Linked DNA regions of Homo sapiens: all the other regions are linked to region 3. The links are contacts of gene promoters, found by promoter capture Hi-C in blood cells and fetal thymus (Javierre and others, 2016). All regions are on one chromosome and are shown on one strand. Each heading gives the region's core, a stretch centred on a gene start or on the middle of the fragment in contact. The rest is flanking DNA. Distances are from core to core; before and after follow the strand shown.

Evidence for each region. Contacts are between HindIII fragments. The CHiCAGO score rates a contact against its expected background, and 5 or more counts as called.
Region 1: a fragment that was not itself captured here is called in contact with the fragment with the promoter of FLJ46875 in region 3 in 1 of 17 cell types (endothelial precursors); the score reaches 6.2 in endothelial precursors.
Region 2: a fragment that was not itself captured here is called in contact with the fragment with the promoter of FLJ46875 in region 3 in 1 of 17 cell types (endothelial precursors); the score reaches 6.5 in endothelial precursors.
Region 4: a fragment that was not itself captured here is called in contact with the fragment with the promoter of FLJ46875 in region 3 in 4 of 17 cell types (M0 macrophages, monocytes, M2 macrophages and 1 more); the score reaches 9.4 in M0 macrophages.

What each region holds. Positions count from the first base shown.
Region 1 is chr2:157,044,601-157,047,865 of GRCh38, forward strand. The region is part of intron 1 of LOC105373710 (a long non-coding RNA gene); the gene reads right to left. It overlaps LOC105373709 (a long non-coding RNA gene), which reads left to right. Exons shown (of 4, transcript XR_001739755.2): 3 at 2,303-2,489. Among named protein-coding and RNA genes, the nearest start is that of GALNT5, 210 kb to the right of the region's middle. The HindIII fragment of the contact is 3,602 bases long and covers 1-3,214 here.
Region 2 is chr2:157,061,230-157,064,320 of GRCh38, forward strand. No RefSeq gene overlaps it. Among named protein-coding and RNA genes, the nearest start is that of GALNT5, 190 kb to the right of the region's middle. The HindIII fragment of the contact is 1,738 bases long and covers 773-2,510 here.
Region 3 is chr2:156,340,497-156,343,501 of GRCh38, forward strand. It overlaps FLJ46875 (a long non-coding RNA gene), which reads right to left and starts at 1,624. Exons shown (of 1, transcript NR_147695.1): 1 at 1-1,624. RefSeq lists enhancers at 529-1,084, 1,085-1,638, 2,846-2,905 and silencers at 1,186-1,285, 1,826-2,435. The HindIII fragment of the contact is 3,407 bases long and covers 929-3,005 here.
Region 4 is chr2:155,688,688-155,691,670 of GRCh38, forward strand. No RefSeq gene overlaps it. Among named protein-coding and RNA genes, the nearest start is that of LINC01876, 560 kb to the right of the region's middle. The HindIII fragment of the contact is 516 bases long and covers 1,230-1,745 here.

The DNA of each region.
Region 1 (3,265 bases), core at 164-2,663, 700 kb after region 3:
TCATAATCCATTTTATATGGTCTTTCTTTATATTATTAATATAGAATTGAGTTGGGTTGGGTTTTTAAAACATTCTTTCTCAGAAACAGAAAACAGTAAATAAGCATAATTTCTGGAAAAATAGACAGCAATTTACAGGATTTTTGTAAAGGTAAGTTCTCTGTTAATTAGCACTCCCAAATTTTGATGCAACTTGCCTAATAGTTACATATGTCTATTTTATCTTTTTCCTATAAAAAAAGCACATAGCTGTCAAACTGAATGAATGGCAGAGGATCCACAAAATTTGTCAAAGAATTTTTCAAGACAGTTGTGTAGAGGACAAGCCTAAATAGTTAAGATTGGTATGGGTGGTAAGGGGTGTGGCCGGGGGGGAGCACTACTGCTTTTTGCTTTTCTTACAACTTTCACCATAGCCACAGTCAATGGAGCCGATCAAGACTTCAAGCCAGCAAAATACACATCTAACTTCAGGGCCTTTGAACTTTCGTCATGGGCCTTGGCTGGTCCCTTTCAAGGTATTAATCAACAATTACAGCCTAATTTAGATCATGGAGACTACAACTAGGGCATAGAGCAGTAGAACAAGTGAGGAGCCCAAACCAAGTACACGGAGCACCACAGCAAGAAAACTGAAGTTCAAATTTCTACTCTAAATTGTAGAAACACAGAGGAAAGAGAAATAACAGGCTGAGTGCATGCTTGGTGTGGAGTTCAAGCAGAGGTTTCTGAGATTTCTGTGAAGAAGTCAAACTTCCTTGGTCATTTCATATTTGGTGTTTGTATGTGTCAAGCTAGTTTATAGGTTCAAATCTGAGGCAAAGAGCATTTCTCTACTTATTTGATGTATTTTCTTCTCAGGATACAGTGTGGTATCCTGTTTATTCAGGACCTTCTGTAGTTTCTCTCCCTATCAGGTATGATTTCTTCAGGGAGCACTTGGACCTTTTCTAAAACTCATCTCTATCAAAGACTTACAACAGATTCCTTTACTTAGAGTTTAACTGTGCACAATGACAGCTAGCTAATCAGATAAACATCTGTACTAGTGCATTCATAAATGCTTACATGATAGTGTATTGCTCTTCTAAGGGATACATAATTTTTTAATGTTACTGTCTTAATCCAAACAATGGTTAGGAACAAACTTTCATACAAATGAGGACTTATGAAGCTCTTACGGTCATATAAAGGAGAAAAAATCCAGTATCTCACTAAGATTTGTCATGAAGCATACTACGTTTCTACATGATATTTATATGCGAAATAAAATCCTAAAAGTCAGTATGTCCTATTCAGATCCCTGCTCTGCCACTTACTATTGATCAAACTTTAATTATACAACCTCTCTACATCTCAGTTTTTTCATACATACAAGTGGCATAGTAATAATAGCTACATTATATGGTTGTTGTGAAGATAAAATTAGTCAAGTAATTTAATTAACTGGAAAAGCACTGGTTCTAGATAAGTGTTAGTAATTATCATTATTATGGGTAGAGAGTATGGTATATTGGTTAAGGACTCTGGCTCTGGCATTAGACATCTATGTTCAACTCCAAGTTTTTGCTACATATAGGAGGTTGGAGAAACTATTCAGTCTCTCTATATCTCAGTTTCTACATCGGCCAAATGGCTTATGAGAATTGTAAAGGTAAGAAAGACTGGATGACGCCATTTAATCTGCCTTAAGTGACGTAGAAAAAGATATGATCGTATACTATTGGGGTGATAATTTATGGCCTCGGAGGAGGTAAAAGGGCATATTGCACAGTCTACTTGTGAGCAATCACTTTGCTGAGCCCACAGTGATGATGTCAAGTTGAGGCCAAACTCAAGTTAGCCAAGTGAACCTCACTTAGCCAAGTTAACTCTGTGGGTCAGGTCTATTCCTCATATATTCACAAGAGAGAACACCAGCAGTGATCTGCAAATGCTGCAAATAATACCTGAGGAGTGAAAATAGTACCATAACAATGTTTTGCGGTTGCCTTCTGTTTCTATGTTCTGGGCCATCTCTCTCATTGGCTTTAAAGAAAGAGAAGTGTGGAAAGATTGCACAACACCACCACCACTAAACTGAAACAAATATAATTTCTAGCAAAGTTGAATTTCCACATGATCATGTTTAAAAATCACAAAAGTAAGTCTGGGTCTAAAAAAGTACTTGAGCAATTTACCCCATTTGAGAACTCTCTAGGTTTGAAATCTCATATTGAAGCGTGACTGCTGTGGCTTGGTTTTCCACATTTATCAGTGTGGGGGCACTGGCCATGATTCTTCTTTCCTTTGTCCTCCCCAGGCATTGGCACAGTCTTTGGACATGAAAATCATGGAGAAGGAAGAGGCTGATTGTTATCCATGATTAGGCAGTGCAGATATAGCTCAATATTCCAAATGGGATGTTTTGGCCTTGGAGTTAAGTTCCAAGAGCATTATAAAATAATCACCTGTATAGGAAGTCCTGACTTAACTCTATTAACAACTTCGTAAGTATAAGAACAATTATCGTACTATTTCATTTTGATAAATTTGTATTCTATTTTTAGCATTTTATAAGACATACATCTCTTTTGTTTTCTGATAATGATAAATGGAGATAAAAGTAAAGAATCATTTTCCTTCTCTTGATTACATTTGCACTTTCCCATTCCAACTTCTCCTACTCCTGACTACACCTGTCTTCAATATACGCCTAGCTTTTTCCTTTAACCAAATGTAATTTGTTCAAATTGTCCTTTACAAACTTTAAGAAAGCCTATTTGGTATATATGAGGCAACGCAAGGCTTTAAAATACTTAGCATTTCTATGATACAGCTCATTTTCAATGCACTTTAAAAATATTAGCTAATTAATTAATTAGTTCCTGATTACAAGGTGGCAGAAGTTCAAGGAGAAAATTGACACATTTCTCTACCTTTATAAAGAAAACTTGTTTATATAAGAGAATATCATTTCTTTTTTGAGTAATATGTACTGTTGTAAAAAATGTTGTGTTTTTGCTAGAACTAGGTATAATAATCATTAAAAATGAATAACAGTAATAATACTAGTATAAATACAACAATATTTTTCAAGGTGGATACATATTTGTTAGACTCTGCTCCTTAAGAACAGGAGCTGTCTTGTTCTCCTTTGTGGCTTGGCACCTAACAGTCCCTGGCCTGGAAAATATAAATACACTAATTTATAGGAGATGAAATCTAATTTGTAAGCTTTGTTTCATACAATGATAAACAATATAAGAACCAATGCAAAACAGCA
Region 2 (3,091 bases), core at 392-2,891, 720 kb after region 3:
GTGGAGAGGAGGAGATGCCACATTTGGAAAGCAATTCTAACAGAATCCACATGATTTCAAGTCTAATTATGCATATATTCTGAGTTATCAATGATTCAAGTGGTCCTATTATTGCAAGACTACAAAGACAACAGCATCAGAAGGTAAGAGAGACGTCTATTTTTCCCCTTTGATAATATCATTTTATTTTCAATAATGAGCAATTGCATACCTTTTTTAAACCTTCATTTTTAATCTGCTAAATGGAGATGCATGTAATACAATTTAAAAGCCTTCAATAAAAGTTTCTTTTTAACTTTGTACTCTTTTGAACAGACTATGTTTTATCATTACATAATTCTGCATTATAAAACCACATGGTTGCTGGTGCCATCCACCAGCAACTGTAATTCAAATGTTTCACTTCTTAAACCAAAGGCATTAATATGATTAGCCCAAAGATATCAGAGAAATAACATACTAATCATTTTTATTTAAAGATGAATTTAATGAAATACATTGAATTAAGGTTTTATATAGCACAAACTAGGTAAGGGAGAAAATAAGCCATGTTGGTCATATCATCAAAATAATAGGAAAGTTCTGTTTCTCTTCTAACCTTGTTCATACCCAGACACATAAGCCTGTAAACATTATCTCCTTATCCTGCCATAATAAGAAGGCATCCTTATGACACATTTCAAACTTTCTATCTGGGCATCACAGAATCATTTGCTCCCCAAAGAAAGGCATCCACTTCACAGGAAAATGCAAATAAAAGCAAGTCAACTCAAGCTTTGGGGATTCCCTAGAGTGCAAGGCTTGTGGCCCAAACACCTGTTTAGTTGCCTTGACAAAAACCACATGATTATCTCAATCGATGCAGGAAAGGCCTCCAATAAAGTTCAACACCCCTTTGTGCTAAAAACTCTCAATAAACTAGGTACTGATGGAACGAATCTAAAAATAATAAGAGCTATTTATGACAAACCCACAGCCAATATCATACTGAATGGGCAAAAGCTGCAAGCATTCCATCTGAAAACTGGCACAAGACAAGGATGCCCTCTCTCACCACTCCTATTCAACATAGTATTGGAAGTTCTGGCCACGGAAATCAGGCAAGAGAAAGAAATAAAGTGTATTCAAATAGGAAGTCAAATTGTCTCTGTTTGCAGATGACATGATTATATATTTAGAAAACCCCATCTTCTCAGCTCAAAATCTCCTTAAGCTGATAAGCAACTTCAGCAAAGTCTCAGGATACAAAATCAATGTGCAAAAATCACAAGCATTCCTATACACCAATAATAGAGAAACAGACAGCCAAATCATGAGTAAACTCCCATTCACAAGTGCCACAAAGAGAATAAAATACCTAGGAATCCAACTTACAAGGGATGTGAAGGACCTCTTCAAGGAGAACTACAAACCACTGCTCAAGGAAATAAGAGAGGACACAAACAAATGGGAAAACATTCCATGCTCATGGATAGGAAAAATCAATATTGTGAAAATGGCCATACTGCCCAAAGTAATTTATAGATTCAGTGCTGTCTCCATCAAGCTACCATGGACGTTTCTTAGAATTAGAAAAAAAACACCTTCCATATGAAAGTATAAATAACCACTCTTAGCTGTTTTTCTTAGGATTGTAAAAATTCACATTAAGATAACTTCCAAGTTATTTTTTAATTGAGTACATTATGGCCAAATTATGCCACATGTGTTATGCCAGATGTGTAATGCCATGTAAATGGAACAATGTGGGGATTCCCTATTTCTCTGTAGTAAGAGCCAGTCAAGGAATGTGGTTTGGAGAAGTCAAAGAGTGCTGACTAAGAATTTGAAGACTTGGATTCTAGGTTTTGTTCTTTCTCCAGCTGACAGGTGTATGACTGTTCATTCTTCCTTACAGTTTGTTCACTCTAAGGGTGGTGGGGGGGGGGTAGATTAGATGGATGGTAAGATTTCTTCTAGCTCCAAAATTCACTAATTTTGTGAACAGCTTATAAAATGAGAGAGAAGGGAAAGTGCCTTCAGCCCCCTATCCTGGTGATTGGGTCCATATGAATTGGAAATAAAACAGACAAATCATGAAGAATGTGAGTTTGGGCACTACCCACAGAGATCACAGGTGGAGAGGAAAGACAATGATAGTTATTAGGCTTGAAAACAATTTGTAAATGCCTCTAAAAATAGTGAATTGTGTCCTGTTCTCTGTAAAATGCCTTCTCTTGTTCACCACAAAGTGAAAATTTTATAGTTTCACATGACTAGCCTAAGAATTATTAATAGTACTTATTTGTTCACTATTCTGCATGTAGGTGGGGAATAAGAAACAAAATAAAGACTTGTTCTCTCATGTTTTCCATATCTAGGATATTTCCATATCTAGGATTTCTTAAACTTCTGAGAACCATTAGTTCATGTAAAGAGACATTGTCTTTGAGTAAGTTTATGGCCTTGTCTTCATAAAAGAGTTTAAAATTGCACATCTGGTAATGAACTATGATTGTGGGTATTTGCCAAGCTTCTCCCAGAGGGTAAATCTACTCTCATTGAAGTGTAAGACTGAGTTCCTCTATTGAAACACTTTGATTTGAATTTGAATCTTGGGGAATTTATCCTTTTTCTAGGTTTTCAGTTCTGGAAAATCTATGCAAAATAGAAGTTAGCAGATGGATCAAGAAACCCACAGAACAATGTTTGTGTTGAAGAATTCTCAGCAAGTGCCCTGTGAGAGTGCTCCCATCTGGAAAGGACTGCAGCTGTCTTTTGGCATGAACTAGATGGGTGTTTGTAACAGGTTCATGTCAACTCTTTTATAGAAAATCAACTCCTAAAATCATTGTAAAATTAAAGAGTTATTTTTATGAATTTCTCCATCCTGTATTAATTCAGGCACCTAACTCCATTTTGAATTTAAAGTGGCCTTGGCCATTTTGTCAATTATCATCTTTGCCTTGGTAGATGAAGAAACACATTCTGCTGGTCAGAGAGTGAGGCTGGTTAGAGTGGACCTGCCAAAAGGTGAGTATGATCAACTGACTTTAAATATGTGCTCTTCTTTGATGGAATTTTATGTCAACATGGTTCTCAGGATGAGTGG
Region 3 (3,005 bases), core at 374-2,873:
TGCTGTCACTGACATGTTGGGAGGAAAAAGCAAACTACCAGTACCACCATGTACATGATTCAAATTAAGCTACATAAATAGTGAGTGCATGGGGTTGTGGGTACAGAAACTGGTTCGCTGAGGAGGTGCTACTTACATTTCCTGTATTTCATATTTCTGAGAACTGTCTTCTGTAATTTCCAAAGTGTAGGAATGGTTGAAGTTTGAAAATAAATGGAGAATTTCAAATAGTTAATGAATAGATTTAGGAGCTATACTGAAACAACTAGCAGAAAATACATTTTCTGGAGTTCTTTAATTTTGTACGCTTAAAAGTATGGTGTTCCTAAAGATGGCTAATTCTTGTTGAAGTAAGTAGCTCTGGAAGTCATATTTTCCATTTCTCCATACTTCATCTATTAATCAGTTGACTGGCAATTTCCGACACCAGTTTTGCTAAACTTTATAAATTTTGCTTCCTCCAGAGGTAGGAGGGGGAAGGAGATGGGCAATACAGAAACAGATTTTACAGCCAGAATATGACAGGGCCCCTTAAACTACAAATAGATGTAGAATTTTAAATGTAGCTCTGTAGTTCAATTTATACCACAGAAATTGCGAGATGCTATCTTCCTGTTGTTATAACGTATCAGGTCAAGGGATATAAATTGTACCAGGTAATTCATTTTGCTGTTCAGAGAGTCATTAAGTTCCTCCCAGAATATATGTGATTGATATCCCTGGAGGTGAAAGGCTAAAGGAACCATATGGCAACATGTTGCATTCCGTATGCTATCTGCCCATCCGTGCTTAAGCTGTCATTAGCAACATCTGTACCTTACGGAAATCCAGCTGCGCCGACGACGGCTGACGGAATTGTACTTGGGGGGAAAATCTAGCTTAGCGCCATTAACTTGAGACTTAGAGTCTATCTACCAGGACGGATGGAAGCTTTCACAATTAGACGAGACGACACGAATGCTTTATTAAAGTTTAATTTTGAACTCCCAATTAGCGAAAGTGCATTACAAATCGATTGCAATTTCCTAGAAGGTGCAGCAAGTTCTCTGCCTGCCTGCCACGTGCGAGACGCTCCACAGCGAGCTTCCCCAGCTCCGGGCAGCAGAAAGGGGATGGTTCAGAGCCGATCTCCGCATCCCAGGAAGTCCCTAAAATCCGCGCCAGCCCCTCCTCCCGCAGGGCGGGGGCGTCCACGGCGCGAACCCGCCAGAGGTGTAGGGGGAAGTGTGGGGGGCTGGTCCGCAGCCTTCGAGGGGTGGGGCGACAGGAGCGAGCGGCCGGGGGAGGAGAAAAAGGCGGGCGGCGGGAGAGGGGGCCTCTATTATCTCGGCTTCTCGGGAGGAGCCTCATCTAGTCAGTCACGCAGAAGTTTCTCTTTCGCTCTTCGCGCTACACACCCAGATTGGCTTCCAGCGCGCAGGCGAGTGGGGCGAAGGAGGGGGGACAGGAGTCCCGGAAGGGCCGTCCGGCGTTCACACCCACCCCTGTTCCGCTCCTCCCGCCCCAAACAAAGTCCCCCGACTCTAGGTCCAGGATACGTTACCTGCCCGGCGCTCCCGGCCCCTCGGTCACCGCATCCCCCGCTGGGCGCGCCTGGTACGGGTCCCGCTCCCCGGGGCTCACAAAGTGGTCGCCCCTGGCTGGGCGGCTGGGTAGATGCCCCTCTCTGGACATGTTGGGGCGGTTTTTGGGGTGGAGGGAACGCGGGAAGTGAAAGCGGAGGCTGGGACAAGGGGAACTTACTGATAAAATGGAAAAAAAAAAAGCCCACAGGGCCCAGGTCCTGGCCGGGGGCGAAAGAGGCCTGTTACCTTTCGGGGGGTCGCGGCCGACCAAGAAGGGAGCCGGGGAGTCGCCCGCCCCCCTCCCCCGGCCCCCGGCCCCCGGCCCCCGGCGGCTGCGGCAGCTGCACACAGAAGCCCATTGTCGCCGGCGTCCGGCGCGCAGCCCCGCGGACTCGGCCCCGCGGCCAAGCGCGTCAGCGGCCCCGTCAGCCGGGCCGGGCTCCGTGACGCGCGCGCAGCCCGCGCTATAAATAACCTGCCGCCGGGCGGCTCGGGCGGCTTTCCAGTGACGCTGGGGCGGAGGCGCGGTAGGAGGAGGGCGAAAGGAAACAATAAAACCGCCCGGCAGCCTCCCAAGTCTCCCTCCTCCCTTCCCAGGCCGCCCGCGGCCCTTCGCGTCGAGCTCCTTTTTCCCCGCCCCGGCCCGCCCTGCGGGGAGCGCGGTTCGCGGGTGGGAAGGAGCCCGGCGTGCTGGCGTCCCCGAGTGCTGCCGGGGCCCCGGGGCGGGAGGGGGTTTTTCCCGCACCCTGGGATGGCGAGGAGGGAACTTGGCGACAAGTTTAGTGAGGGGATCGCTGTGTTCCTTTCTAGTCCAGTTAAAATGACCCGAGCTTTTCCCGCTCCCTCACACACCTATTCTAGTACAGGTCGGATGTGTTTTTGGGGTAGTAAGTCCTCAACCGAAAACAAAAGCGAAAAACCTGTCGTCTTCAACGTAAGCATTATCTAGGTTTTTGTGGGGCCAGGCTTGCATTAGTGTTTTCATTCGGGGGGTTGTATTATAGAAAGGGTGCCCCGTAGTAGCAGCGTGAGGAAGGGTTCCAGGACCCAGGCTGTCAGCTCCGGTGCATTTACAGGTCTTTTTGCCGTAGAATTTAGCATAGGCCTGAAACATGGCATAAATGAACTTTCTAAAAGTCTATAATCTCAACGTTAAAGAGCTTACTTTTTAACTCTGGACTTTAATAAAGGCTCCCACTTTAAAAGGGGCTTTCTCTATAGGAAAGTATTAATATTTTTGTGGAGACTCTCACTGCTACCTTCCATACTCAGGCAATTCTGTCACACACCCTGACACTTGTCCTACTCATTAAGGTACCCACATACAACTGGAGGTAATCTGTTTTCTTGGACCAACAATTAATAGACTATAAAACTGTATTTCGTCTTGAGCAAAATGTCTCAGCTATGAACATGTTTTCTGAGGTTCTGATATAGACA
Region 4 (2,983 bases), core at 238-2,737, 650 kb before region 3:
TTGTGTTTAAATTAAAATAATAGTCAAACCAAATAAAAACAGTAATCCAAAGCACTACATACCAAATTTTAAAACAGATTTGATAGATTCATATTAAGTGGATTTGATATAGTCATATTTGACATAAACAAATTCAAAATACAGAATTTTAATAGGACTTGCTATTGCTTAGTGAGTCGACATCACATAACTCTAATACTCTAATCTCTGAGGAATAATTTTTAAAATCACTGTTTCCTGGTGACATTATTTCTAAGCCTTTATACATTTATGACCTTGTCATTATTCCTATTAAATTTTGGGGATTATATTGATTTTTAGTTTTTTTGGTAAAAGTGTTATTTTAGATTTCATTTATTTTCAAAACTTCCAACTAAAGTTCCTTAAACTTTTTTTGGATCACATGCAGCTATAAAATATTATCAGTTTCCAGAAAAATACAACAAATTGCAAGTACACTATGTTTAAGATGTAATTTTAGAAGGCCACTGGTCCCCTAAAGCACCTCTATTTATCTCCTAGAGAACCATGAACTATAAAATAATGATCTATGATTCAAATACAATTTTGAAATGTTGAAAATATGAAAGACAGGTAAACACAGTTTCAAGATTTTCTTCAGCATACAATGCTTATATAAGTATCATAGATCTAATTTAATGAAATACTAAACAAAGCATCTTATCACATAGCATTAAGCAGTTCCTAAGGAGCCACAGTACACATTACTCTTAGAAGAAATCTTGGATGGTGACTGGAAGGACCACATCTAAAATCAATGGACTTTAGTTGAAATTCTGATCTACAACTGTAGGCTCAATTCCCCTATCTGGGATTCGTGAATAGTTAACTATACCAATCTCTTTATTTGGTGTTAGAAGTATGTGAAATAATATAAAGTTACTTAGTATAATAATGGCACATATAAAACATTTAGTACATGTTAACAATACTTATTAGCACATACTATGAATGTTCTCATTGGTGATGTGAATATATACTCCAAAGCACCAAATTCCTGTTTAAATCCTACAAAGAATCTTCCAAAGACACCAAGTTTTCATAATTTCAGTGTTCTTTCTAAGTCGTTGCTTTTCACTATTACTTTTACATTTATGTAACAAAGGAATACTATTTTTATTCTGTTCTGTAGTGTTTGATATTGCACACATTTTTTTCCTTACATTATTGTCGGACAAGAGAACTCTGATTATGCACTGTTCACACAAAGCTTCCTTGTGTAATATTAAGATAGATCATTTGCCAAAAGAATAACCTCACCAAGAGGCCAAAGCATGGGACAACAAAAAAGTCTTTATGTAGTGATTGGTTCACAGGCATCCTGTGCCTTGAGGCGTGATTCAAATTTCCTCACTGAATTATATCTGTACATCTCTCACGCATATCCACATCCCTCACAAATCAACTTCCCTAGCTTCCAGAATTCATTAGGGATCTTATCCTCTCTCTAAAATAACTACAACTCTAATGCGTTCCCTGTTTATTTTCAACATAGAGCAAAGAGGAGCTGAATATTTAAGACCTTAGTTGTTAGACATGTTCGTAATAAAAGATTAAAGAAAAATAGAACAGAAAATTTGGATACAGAATACATCAGGCTTTTTTGGTTTAACTAAAGTCACTCAAGTTGTAAATTTAAGTGATTGAAGTTCTAAATAGAATAATAATTAAGATTTTTCAAAATGCAGAACTAGAAAAGAGAAACCTGGAAATTATTCCATCAAAGCTTTAACCTATAAAGCTTTAATTATATTCAGGATTTGAGGTTAGAATGATGAAGAATGCCTCCTTCTTAAATTAGGTTGAAGGTTTAAATCAAACTCAACAATTTCAGCAGTGCCCCAATAGATCTTAATGTCACATAGCTTTTTGCTCTTCATGTTCTTTTCTTTATTATTGCATTGCCTCATTAACTCTCTTCTGTCCAAAAATAATAGACCGGAGTAGGAGGGCTAGTGATTATTGAAAACCTAGGGGTGTTCAGTATCAATACCCAAAACTTAGTATACATCTTCTTAACTTCAAAGGAATATCATACTCATATACAGAAAAATTAAGAGCTTTTATATATAACTCCTTGTACCTCCAATTAAAAATGTGTGTAGTTTATACCACTTTAGGTTTTGTTGTTTATAAGCCAATTACTGGAAAAATTATCAAATTATAACCTAGCCACTATAAATAAGTCTGATCCATCCAAATAAACATGCAATATGAGTATATAAATGGATGGTTGGTATTGGTTCCTCATTTCTAGAACAGTTGTGTTTTGCATCAGAGCAATGAACTCTGCTTTCGTTTTCCTAGTTTTGCTAGTCATGTCTGCGTGTTCCCATTCTCTTAACTTCCTTATTCAAATACTTACCAACTATTGTCAATTGTACATTTTAAATATCTCCAGATATGCACACTTTCCTCTGTTCTTTCAGGGTCTTACTATTTCTTGTTGTTTGGATTATAGCAACATCTTCCAAATTGATGTTCTTTCTGCATGACTTGGTTCCCTTCTATCTATTCCCAAGATCAGAAGAATCTTTCTAAATGCAGAGATGATCAAGTCACCTCTGTTCTTCATACTTTAATGGTGGCATTAAAATGGAATTGTTAATTTCTACTTTCTGTATACTTTTATTTTTTGTACCGATGCACTCTAGCCTCAAAAAAGCAAAAATATACCAATTTTTACTGTACGAATAACAAAGTTCAATCACTTTACAATGACAATTAAGGACTTTGATTTGATCTTTTCTTATCTTGTCAATACTGACACACACCACCCCTGACTGTCTAGCTTAAATTTTGTGTAGTTGTTAGAATGTAATAATATCCTGTGAATCTCTGTACCTTTGGCACTCTCGTTATGATTAAAAACCTTTTCTTCTTTTTTTCTTGAATAACTCCTAAGTGTCTTTTAAGATTCTGCTCAGGCAGCACCTCCTACTCTAGTCAAAAACAGATGTGC